4 separate regions of the Homo sapiens genome follow, and regions 2, 3 and 4 are each linked to region 1. Evidence: promoter capture Hi-C in 16 types of primary human blood cells and fetal thymus (Javierre and others, 2016). All regions are on one chromosome and are shown on one strand. Each heading gives the region's core, a stretch centred on a gene start or on the middle of the fragment in contact. The rest is flanking DNA. Distances are from core to core; before and after follow the strand shown. Region 1 holds the start of DDX39A (DExD-box helicase 39A). Region 2 overlaps ZSWIM4 (zinc finger SWIM-type containing 4). Region 3 has its middle 2.3 kb from the start of ZSWIM4. Region 4 holds the start of CC2D1A (coiled-coil and C2 domain containing 1A).

Evidence for each region. Contacts are between HindIII fragments. The CHiCAGO score rates a contact against its expected background, and 5 or more counts as called.
Region 2: a fragment that was not itself captured here is called in contact with the fragment with the promoter of DDX39A in region 1 in 1 of 17 cell types (activated CD4 T cells); the score reaches 5.3 in activated CD4 T cells.
Region 3: a contact is called between a fragment that was not itself captured here and the fragment with the promoter of DDX39A in region 1, in 1 of 17 cell types (non-activated CD4 T cells). The highest score is 7.4, in non-activated CD4 T cells.
Region 4: the fragment with the promoter of CC2D1A here is called in contact with the fragment with the promoter of DDX39A in region 1 in 7 of 17 cell types (total CD8 T cells, naive CD4 T cells, naive CD8 T cells and 4 more); the score reaches 9.9 in total CD8 T cells.

The regions. Positions count from the first base shown.
Region 1 is chr19:14,417,891-14,420,590 of GRCh38, forward strand. It overlaps DDX39A (DExD-box helicase 39A), which reads right to left and starts at 1,451. Exons shown (of 11, transcript NM_005804.4): 1 at 1,380-1,451. RefSeq lists enhancers at 31-80, 451-510, 921-1,060 and a silencer at 1,181-1,280. The HindIII fragment of the contact is 5,494 bases long and covers 1-2,565 here.
Region 2 is chr19:13,830,966-13,833,665 of GRCh38, forward strand. ZSWIM4 (zinc finger SWIM-type containing 4) reads left to right here. Exons shown (of 14, transcript NM_001367834.3): 14 at 1-1,289. The coding sequence ends at 85. Among named protein-coding and RNA genes, the nearest start is that of MIR24-2, 4.0 kb to the right of the region's middle. RefSeq lists enhancers at 2,459-2,508, 2,559-2,608. The HindIII fragment of the contact is 4,589 bases long and covers 1-2,700 here.
Region 3 is chr19:13,791,805-13,794,504 of GRCh38, forward strand. No RefSeq gene overlaps it. Among named protein-coding and RNA genes, the nearest start is that of ZSWIM4, 2.3 kb to the right of the region's middle. The HindIII fragment of the contact is 9,824 bases long and covers 1-2,700 here.
Region 4 is chr19:13,904,860-13,907,559 of GRCh38, forward strand. It overlaps CC2D1A (coiled-coil and C2 domain containing 1A), which reads left to right and starts at 1,342. Exons shown (of 29, transcript NM_017721.5): 1 at 1,342-1,642. The coding sequence starts at 1,583. BRME1 (break repair meiotic recombinase recruitment factor 1) reads right to left here and starts at 1,258. Exons shown (of 9, transcript NM_001345843.2): 1 at 856-1,258; 2 at 3-54. The coding sequence starts at 33. RefSeq lists a silencer at 1,657-1,716. The HindIII fragment of the contact is 3,878 bases long and covers 1-2,062 here.

The sequences.
Region 1 (2,700 bases), core at 201-2,700:
CCAGCGTGGTGGCTCATGCCTGTAATCCCAGCACTTTGGGAGGCGAAGCGGGCGGATCACTTGAAGTCGGGAATTAGAGACAAGCCTGGGCAACATGGTGAAACCCCGTCTCTACTACAAATACAAAAATTAGCCGGATGTGCTTGCTTGAACCCGGAAGACGGAGGCTGCAGTGAGCCGAGATAGTGTCACTGCACTCCAGCCTGGGCGACAGAGCAAGGCTCTGTCTCAAAAAAAAAAAAAAAAAAAAAAAAAGAGAGAGAGAGATAAATAAATTGGGGTGAACCGAATCTGCTAAGATAAAATTTTCGAGAAACCGGGCTGGACAGGATCTAAAGCTCAAAACTGATTAGATCAGGAAAGGATCCGGCGGGGTTTTCCCCGCCCAAAGTGGGTGGCCATGACCGCTAAGGCGCCAGGAGCGCATGAACTTGAAAGGTGACAGCGGGGAACTCACAACCCAGACACGCCACGTGTACCCAGTTACCCTCAAGTGTCCCCAGGCAGGCTTTCCACCCCGGAGTTTATTCCCACCTGGGGACTCCTATTTCCAAAAGAAAATCTTTTTTTCATTCTGTTTTTTTTGAGGCAGAATCTCGCTCTGTCACCCAGGCTGGAGTGCAGTGTCGCGATCTCGGCTCACTGTAACCTCCACCTCCCGGGTTCAAGCGATTCTCGTGCCTCAGCCTCCCGAGTAGCTGGGACCACAGGCGCTCGCCACCACGCTCGGCTGATTTTTTTTTGTATTTTGAGTAGAGACGAGGTTTCACCATGTTGGCCAGGCTGGTCTCGAACTCCTGACCTCAAGTGATCCGCCCTCCTTGGTCTCTCCCAAAGTACTGAGATTACAAGAGCCACCGCGCCCGGCCTTCCAAAATAAAGTCTTATTTGCTCTAAATCTCAGAATCCCGAATCCCGTAAAAAGTAGACCAAGAAGAAGGTAGACTGGGAAAGGGATCAAGTCCCTCGGACCCAAAGAAACCCCTGACAACTGAAAGCTCCAACTTCTCCCACCCAGGCCCCAGACCCCGGCGTCACCCCCTCGTCCCTCTCCAAATGGCCCCAGGCCGCCGCGGGGTCTATTCGGACGAACTGACAGACTCCAAGTGGGGCTCGGAGCGCCGTAGGCCATGACAGCCCCTCCGAGAAGCGGGCCCCGAGCCCCGAGCACCGCGCGCCAACGGCTGGCCCACCCCTAGCGCATGCGCCCCGGTGCCCAACGGCCAACACACAGCGCTCTGACACACCAACCGCCCCGCCCCCACCGTCTCGCGACCCTTTCTCCCCCTCCCCTTAGATCCCAACGTCTCCCCTCGTCCTCTCGCTCTCAGTTCAGACGTCCCCACACCGCGGCCCCGCGCCCGGGATCCGCTGCTCACCTGGCTCCCCGTTCTTCTCCGCGCGCTGCTAAGAGACACTTCCAACTTCGGTTTTCCGCCGGGCGCTCAGACACGAGTTGCTGCGCTTCCTGCCTCTTGCGTCGGGCTGCTGCTCTGCTGACTGGGCCGCTGCCTTTTCATTCAAGAGAGGCCGAAGCGGTGATTGGGTCCTGTGGAAGGGACCGGGAGATTATTGGCGGAGACGGGAAGAAAGAGGGCGTGCCTTACGCCTCGCGTTTATTGGTCAATCTAAAAGTAGGCGCGCCCCAGTGAGCCGACAGACTGGCTCCGACAGCGCGCGGTCTCGTGATCTGGGTGTGGTGCTCGGTGGGAGCCGCCATGTTTAGTACTGATAACTGAAGACCGGATGATTGCGTTTTGGCGTGTGCCCCACCTTTTCGAAGAGTGGCGTCTGCGCTGGGCGCTGAAACCAGAACTGTCCCAGTTGCTATCAATCTGCGGCCTGGGGGTCCTCCACAGTGTAGGCTCTGAAAAGAATAGGGAGCTTGGAATGACTCAAATGGACAGAACATTTTGCAGTATTTGGATTTCTATCGCTCCACGATAGTTTTGTCTCCTTGATTTTCACGTTAGTAGAAGCATGCAATAGGTTGTCTTTTGTGTCTGACTTTTGCTCAACAAAGCTGTTTTTTTGAGACGGAGTCTGGCTCTGTCACCTAGGCTGGAGTGCAGTGGCGCGATCTCTGCTCACCACAACCTCCGCCTCTCGGGTTCAAGCGATTCTCCTGCCTCAGCCTCCTGAGTAGCTGGGACTGCTGGCGCCCGCCACCACACCTGGCTAATTTTCATATTTTTAGTAGAGAGGGGTTTCGCCATGTTGGCCAGGCTGGTCTCGAACTCCTGGCCTCATGTGATCTGCCCATCTCCGCCTCCCAAAGTGCTGGGATTACATGAGCCACCCTGCCTGGCCGCAGCAAAGTGTTTTTGAGAGTTGTCCATGTTGTGGGGATATCAACAGCTCGTTATTTTTTACTGCTGAGTGGTATTTCATTGTGTGGCTATACTATAATGTAGCCAATATAGTTTCACTCACCTGTTCTTGGCCAATTGATTGTTTCCGGTCTTTGGCCACTGTTAATAGAGCTTGTACTGTAAGAGTATTTTGGGGAAGATAAATTTTCATTTCTTTTAAATACTTAGGAGTGGCATGGTGGCATGGTCACTAAGCTTTATTAGATCCTGGCAGATTTATTTTCCTATCATCCTTCCTCCCTCTTTCCCTCCACTTTCTTCTTTCTTTCTTCAGGGTGTCACTCTTGTTACCTATCATGCCCAGCTAATTTTTAAAAATTTGGTAAAG
Region 2 (2,700 bases), core at 83-2,582, 590 kb before region 1:
GTTCTCACAGTTCTTGGAGAACCTCAAACAGACCTACAAGGGCAAGAAGAAACTCATGCTTTTGGTGCGGGAGCGTTTTGGTTGAGGGACAGTGGGGTGCGTGGGAGTGGGGATCCCCCTCGCCCCTGCGTCCCCCACCCTTGCTCTCCAATTAGGCCCACGTGGCATTTCAGTATTATTAAGTCAGGGAAGGAGCCCGGCTGGAGATGGGGGCAGGGGGAGCAGCATCCTGCCACGTGTGTGCCTGGGAGTCTGTGAGCAAGTGTGCAAGACTCCAGAAGCAGAAGCCATACTGCCACCCAGAAGCCTGGAAGGGGTGTGTGCTTGGGCTGCTGGTATGACCCCACTTTGGGCACCCCAAAAGCAATAGGCAAACTCCCCTTACCCAGACTGGCTTGGGCTCCAGGAGGGAGGCTGGGAGGCAGGACTTTCCAGAAATCGACCCTCTAAGTCAATGTAGCACATTTTCCCCCAACCCCACCCTGGGTGGCCAAGGGTCCTCCCCCACCCCCTACTGCTCAGGGCCCCCCATTATGCCACCTCCAAAGTGGCTGCCCAGCCAGGACCATTGGCTCACCCCCACTGAAGGAATTGAAGAGGCCTCAGGCCTCAGCCTCATACCTCACCCCCTTATCCTATCCGGCCAGGACCCCCATTTCCTTGGGCACTAGGGTCCCAGGGTGGGCTCAGGGTTGGGGAAGTCCTCGCTGCCCTCTCTTCTCACCTGCTAGTCACTGGACGTACAACTCAGGAACTGAGCGAGGCTCACACTGCCCCTTCCAACCTGGGGTTGGGGGACACAGACGCGAGAGAGCCGGAGACCCCCACCCCCGATCTGGAAAGGAAAGAGACCTGTATCTTGGTGTTTTTCTGGCTTTTTCACCCTTTCGCCTCCTGTCTTTCTGCTTCGCCCCTTCATCTTACTCTGTTTCCATTTTTCCCGGCACTTACCTGCCTTTCTCTCTGCACCTAAGTCCCTGCCGCCCTCTCTCTTTGGCCATCCTTCCTTTCCCCCACCTTGACCCAGGGAGGAGAAGGGAGAACATCACCCCCCCAAGTCACCCCCACATCTTTTCCCTTCTTGTATATTAAGGACAAAATACCACATCATTTTGTAACTTTTTTTCTATTTATTGAACGGTGTATTACATGTCCTTTTCCTTTTTTTTTTTCAAAGATTGAACAGAAATTTTTCTTTTTAATTTTATTTTGAGACTGGGGTGCATCTCCAGAGCCACTCACACCCTCAACCTCGTTTCCTCCGCAAAAAAAAAAAAAAAAAAAAAAAATGTCTGGCCTTATTTCTGGGTGCAGCGCCAAGCGAGGGGTGGGATGGGAGCGACTGCTGGCTTCATTCCATGGTAATTATGTAAATATTTCCCTTTTTTTTTTTTTGGTCTTTCTCTGTTGCCCAGGCTGGAGTGCAGTAGCGCGATCTGGGCTCACTCCAACCTCCACCTCCCGGGTTCAAGCGATTCTCCTGGCTCAGCCTCCCAAGTAGCTGGGATTACAGGCATGCGCCACCACACCGGGCTAATTTTTGTATTTTTTAGTAGAGACGGGGTTTCACCATGTTGGCCAGGCTGGTCTCGAACACCTGACCTCAGGTGGTCTGCCCGCCTCAGCCTCCCAAAGTGCTGGGATTACAGGCGTGAGCCACCGCACCCGGCCTTATGTAAATATTTCAAAACAGAGATGGACAGCTCACCATGAGGGAACACAGGGCTGAATGCGTTACCGCTGTCATTTAATCGTCACCACAGCCCTATGAGTTGGTAGGATTATCTTTTCCATTTTACAGATGAGAAAACTGAGGTTGCAAAGTGGAAAGAAAGGGCACCCAGCGGCCGGGCGCGGTGGCTCACGTCTGTAATCCCAGCACTTTGGGAGGCCGAGGCGGGCGGATCACGAGGTCAGGAGATTGAGACCATCCTGACTAACACGGTAAAACCCCGTCTCTACTAAAGATATAACAAAAAATTAGCCAGGCGTGGTGACGGGCGCCTGTAGTCCCAGCTACTAGGGAGGCTGAGGCAGGAGAATGGCGTGAACCCTGGAGGTGGAGCTTGCAGTGAGCCGAGATCGCCCCACTGCACTCCAGCCTGGGCGACAGAGCGAGACTCCGTGGGTGGGGGGCAGGGGGGAAGGGCACCTAGCTAGGACGTTTGATTTAGGACCTGGTTGGGGCCACTGACCCCTGCCCACCCCTGACTGCAGGGTCCTTGAGCCCCTAGGAAGGGCCAAGATGGGGGTGGGGGGCGCCCTGGCTCCAGACACCAATGTTGGGGGTCCTTGTCTCCAAATTGCTGAGCATGGGAGGCTGTGGCAGGTGTTGGTGCAGCTGGATGGGGAAGACACCCCGATCAAAAGCGGGAACCCCGGGTTTAGACTCGACCTCGGTGGGCGGGGCTCTGGCCAAGAGAAGAAAAACGGAGTGGGGGTGGTCTGTGCGTGGACACTCGCCAGGGGACGTGGCCAGGGCGTGTCTGGGATCTTGCGCCACTGAAGAGGCTCCCAGTCGTCAAATAGAGTGAGGGATGGGATCCAAAGGACGGCGAGAAAGCCCGTGGTTGTCTAAACGTCCCTGGCTCCCCGAGAAGCAGTTTCCTCGGGGCCTTCCTGCCTTTTGGATGAATGGAGATGCTGTGTCTGGGTCACTGCCAGAGCCGGGGCAGGAGAGGACAGAGGCTTCCCGGAGCG
Region 3 (2,700 bases), core at 13-2,512, 630 kb before region 1:
CAGGCTGGAGTGCAACACTGTGATCTCAGCTTACTTCAACCTCCACCTCCCGGGTTCACGCCATTCTCCTGCCTCAGCCTCCCAAGTAGCTGGGATTACAGGCACCCGCCACCAGGCCCAGCTAATTTTTTGTATTTTTAGTAGAGACGGGGTTTCACTATGTTGGCCAGGCTGGTCTCAAACTCCTGACCTTGCGATCCGCCCTCCTCGGCCTCCCAAAGTGCTGGGATTACAGGAGTGAGCCACCGCGCCCCGCCTAAGCTGGTCTTAAACTCCTGACCTCAGATGATCTGCCCGCCTCGGCCTTCCAAAGTGCTGGGATTACAGCCCTGAGCCACTGTACCCAGCCTACATACGTAATTTAAATGTCCTGAAACCATGTAAAAGAAAATATATGAAATCAATTTTAATAATGTATTTTATTAAACCAAGTTTATCTAAAATATAATTTCAACATGTTAACAACACTAAACATTTGCTTTCTTTTGTTCTGTCTTTTTTTTTTTTTTTTTGAGACAGAGTCTCACTTTGTTGCCCAGGCTGGAGTGCCGTGGTGCAATCTTGGCTCACTGCAAACTCCGCCTCCTGGGTTCAAGTGATTCTCCTGCCTCAGCCTCGCAAGCAGCTGGGATTACAGGCGCCCGCCACCACGCCCAGCTGATTTTTGTTTTGTTTTGTTTTGTTTTGTTTTTTGAGGCGGAGTCTTGCTCTATTGCCCAGGCTGGAGTGCAGTGGCGCGATCTCAGCTCACTGCAAGCTCCACCTCCCGGGTTCACGCCATTCTCCTGCCTCAGCCTCCGGAGTAGCTGGGACTACAGGTGCCCGCCCCCACGCCAGGCTAATTTTTTTGTATTTTTAATAAAGACGGGGTTTCACCGTGTTAACCAGGATGGTCTGCATCTCCTGACCTCATGATCCGCCCGCCTCGGCCTCCCGAAGTGCTGGGATTACAGGCGTGAGCCACTGTGCCCGGCCCTAATTTTTGTATTTTTAGTAGAGACGGGGTTTCACCATGTTGGCCAGGCTGGTCTTGAACTCCAGACCTCAGGTGATCCGCCTGTCTCAGTCTTCGAAAGTGCTGGGATTACAGGTGTGAGACACCTTGCCCGGCCTCGTTTTCTGTTTTTTTGTTTGTTTGTTTGTTTTCCTGAGACGGTCACACTGTCACTCCGGCTGGAGCACAGTGATACAATCATATCTCACTGTAGCCTGAACCTCTTGGGCTCGAGAGATCCTCCTGTCACAGCCTCCAGAGTAGCTGGGACTACTGGCTTGTGCCACCACGCCCAGCTGATTTTCTTATTTTTTAATAGAGATGGGTTTTCGCCATGTTGCCCATGCTGGTCTCAAACTCCTGGGCTCAAGTGATCTTCCCACCTCACCATCCCAAAGTGCTGGGATTCCAGGCGTGAACCACCGCGCCTGGCCAAAACATTCTTTTTTTTTTTTTTTTGGAGTCTCACTCTGTCCCCCAGGCTGGAGTGCAGTGGCGCAATCTTGGCTCACTGCAACCTCTGCCTCCTGGGTTCCCACCATTCTCCTGCCCTAGCCTCCCTAGTAGCTGGGACTATAGGCGCCTGCCACCATGCCCGGCTAATTTTTTGTATTTTTAGTAGAGAAGGGGTTTCACTGTGTTAGCCAGGATGGAAAACATTCTTAATGAAATATTTTAGGCCGGGCGTGGTGGCTCACGCCTGGAATCCCAGCACTTTGGGAGGCCAAGGCAGGCAGATCATAAGGTCAGGAGTTTGAGACCAGCCTGCCAATATGGTGAAACCCCGTCTCTACTAAAAATGCAAAAGTTAGTCAGGCGTGGCGGTGGGTGCCTGTAGCCCCAGCTACTTGGGAGGCTGAGGCAGAATAATCACGTGAACCTGGGAGGCAGAGGTTGCAGTGAGCTGAGATCACTCCATCTCAAAAAAAAAAAAAGAAATATTTTTCCTTGTTCCCTTCCTGCTATGTCTCCAAAATCCACTCTGTATTTTACCTTTCCAGCACAACCTAATTTCAGCCAGTCCCATTTCAAGGGCTCAGAGACCACTTGTGGCCATTGGTGACCATACTGGACAGTGCAGGTCTGCAGGGGAGTTTAACTAATTGAGGGGGTGGCAGGGAGAGTGGGTGAAGACTGGCCAGAGGGTGCAGCTGTGAGACTCGAAGTTTCTCCAAGAAAAAGCTAGGGCTTCCATATGGATGAGTGGATAATCACTGTTTTTTTTTTTTTTCTGCTGTGCCTATCATTTAACTGAATGGAGGCAAAGCATGTGTTGGTTGGTACATTCAACAAGTTCTAGGTTAAGCGCCTACCTTCCAGGTGCTGCCGGTACAGTAAAGCACAGATGGGACAAACTCCTGCCTCCTGAGGCTCACAGTGGAGAGGGAGAGATTGAAATTAAGCAACTACCAAAGGTGGATCACTTGAGGTCAGGAGTTCAAGACCAGCCTGGCCAACATGGCAAAACTCCGTCTCTACCAAAAATACAAAAATTAGCCGGGCGTGGTGGTGGGCGCCTATAATTTCAGCTATTCGGGAGGCTGAGGCAGGAGAATCACTTGACCCCGGGAGGCGCAGGTTGCAGTGAGCCGAGATCGCACCACTGCACCCCAGCCTGGACGACAAGAGTGAAACTCCGTAAAAAAAAAAAAAAAAAAAAAAAAAAAAACCGCCGAAACAGATAAATAAATGGTAATGGTGAGAAG
Region 4 (2,700 bases), core at 92-2,591, 510 kb before region 1:
ACCTGAGGTCCGCAGCTTCTTCCTCTTAGTCATTTTATCTTCCCCTTGAGAAATCTGAAAACAAGCAAAATCTCTCATCATTATAAGCAGTCTCTGTCTCTGTTTATATCCAGTGGCTTTGGCTGAGAGCAGAGGTTACCCCTACCTCCACCTCAGCCCATTTGGCTGCCCCAGGGGTCAGATGGCTCCCACTGGGACACAGGATGGGACACAGAGTCACAGCCACTTTGGGCCATGGCCAGGTAGGAATTCAAACCTCCTCCAAACTGAAGATCTTATGCCCAGGACCTGAAAGACAAATGGGCCCTGGGGGGTCCTTATAGATAGCCCCGGGGACCCAGACTCTGGTCCCTAGGATGAAACAGCCTGTGTGAAGCCCCTCCCTCCAGACTGGGGTATCTGGGGGCCCTTCCAAGGACACTTGAGGACTCTCCAGGGGCCTCTGGAGACCAGCCTGGCCAATATGGTGAAACCCCCTCTCTATTAAAAACACAAAAATTAGCCTGGGCATCGTGACGCACACCTGTAATCCCAGCTACTTGGGAGGCTGAGACAGTAGAATTCCTTGAACCCATGAGGCAGAGGTTGCAGTGAGCCGAGATCGCTCTACTGCACTCCAGCCTGGGCGACAGAGCGAGACTCCGTCTCAAAAAAAAAAAAAAAAATTAGTCAGGTGCGGTGGCACACACCCGTAATCCCAGCTACTCAGGAGGCTGTGGTACAAGGCCAGGAGGCAGAGGTTGCAATGAGCCAAGATCGTGCCACTTTAAAGGGGACAGCTGGGTCCTTGGAGGGGAAAGAGCTGCCATAGGCCGGTTTCTCCCAGCCTTGGGGGCGAGGCAAACCAGAACGGACCTGGGCCACAGAAGTCGTTGAGGACCCTCTGTCCTTATCAGAAACGAGCTCTGCCTGGATCAGTTGGGAATAAGTCGCTTGAATTATCCGCGTTACTCTTTTTGGAAAAAATAAATGGCCAAATTGGCCCTCACAGAACGCTGGAGGCCTCGAGTCCGGAGGTGAAAGATGGAAAGGCCTGAGGGTGGGCGCTGTAGACCCCGCTCCCGGTGACAAGCCCCACACTGACACTACGCCGACCACCGAGAAGTGAGGACTCCACAGGCCGAGAGCCCACGTGAAGCCGGAGCCCGTCGGTGACTGACAGACGCTCTGAACCCCACAGATGTCGCCGCCCCTCACACCTGCGCGCGCTCTGCCTCTTTCCCGCGCCCCGCGAGGTCCCGCCCCGCGCATGAGCGACGCAAACACCGCCCTCGCAGCCCGCGACAGTCAGCACCGCCCCAGCCAGGCGCCTGCGCGCCCACGCACTACCTGCCGGGAGTTGTAGTTTCGGCTCGGCAGACCCGGCGAGCCCAGTGGCCGCGCTCCGGTGCGGCGGCGCCCGAGGCCCGAGGCGGAAGTGGGACGGCCAAGCAGGGAAGCGAGGGCTCGGGATCGACGGCCGCGGGGCGCCGACGAGGAGTGCAGGACTCAGGAAGGGCGAGTGCGCGGCGACAGAGCCCGGGGAAGGAGGCAGGGCAAGGCCGGGCTTGGGGGCAGGTGGTCCGGGCATCCAGCCTTGAAGATGCACAAGAGGAAAGGACCCCCGGGACCCCCGGGCAGAGGCGCCGCGGCCGCCCGCCAGGTGAGTTTGCGCCCCACGGCCCGACCTGGGGATCCCTCCCCACCCCCGTCACTCGCTCAGGGAAGGGCCCCACCCCCCAGGGAAGCCCGATCTCCGCCCCACAGGTAAGCCCCGGTCCCCGCCTCCCCCCAGGTGAGGCTCCAACACCACCCAAGTGTGGCCTACTGGCCTTGGCTCCCCAGCTCCTGGGGCCCTGCCCCGGGTTCGGGGCCACCTGTTGCCACAGCTGCTCCAGTCGAGGAGGGGCAGTCCTCGGACTTGACACATCAAACCCTTGCATCAGTCGGGCCATGTCAGACTCTTTTTATTCCATTGTACAGATGAGGACTTTGAGACTCAGAGACGTGAAGACATCTGCCCAAGGTCATAGGGATTAACAGCTTGGCCAGGGCTAAGCACAAATCCAGGGCTGCAGCCATAAGCTTATGGCACTGTGGCTGGACCCCTTCTCACTCTCCCGACTTCTTTGCCCCAGGCACCAGATAGTTTGATTTTTCTCAGTTTTGATGGAAGGAGCCCAGGACATAGCTTGGTGTTCAGATATTAGAGTCTGGCTGACCTGAAGTTCCCTCCTGGCCTCTGTACATCGGACACTTGACTTTACAGCTCTGAGCCTCAGCTTTCTCATCTGTAAAATGGAGATCTCTATAATCCCAGCACTTCAGGAGATGGAGGCGGAGGCAGAGGTGGGAGAGTCATTTGAGGCCAGAGTTTGAGACCAGCCTGGGCAAAAGCAAGACCCCCGTCTCGACAAAAAAAGACTAACTGGGCATGGTGGCATGTGCCTGTAGTACTACTACTTGGGAGGCTAAGAAGGGAGGATTGCTTGAGCCCAGGAGTTCAAGACCGCAGTGAGCTATGATTGCGCTACTTCTGCTCCAGCCTGGGTGACAGAACAAGACTCTTTCTCTAAAATAAAGATAAAAAATTAAAAATGGAAGTCCGGGGTGGTGTCTCACACCTGTAATCCCAGCACTTTGGGAGGCCATGGCGAAACCCCATCTCTACTAAAAATACAAAAATTAGCTGGGCATGGTGGCGGGCACCTGTAATCCCAG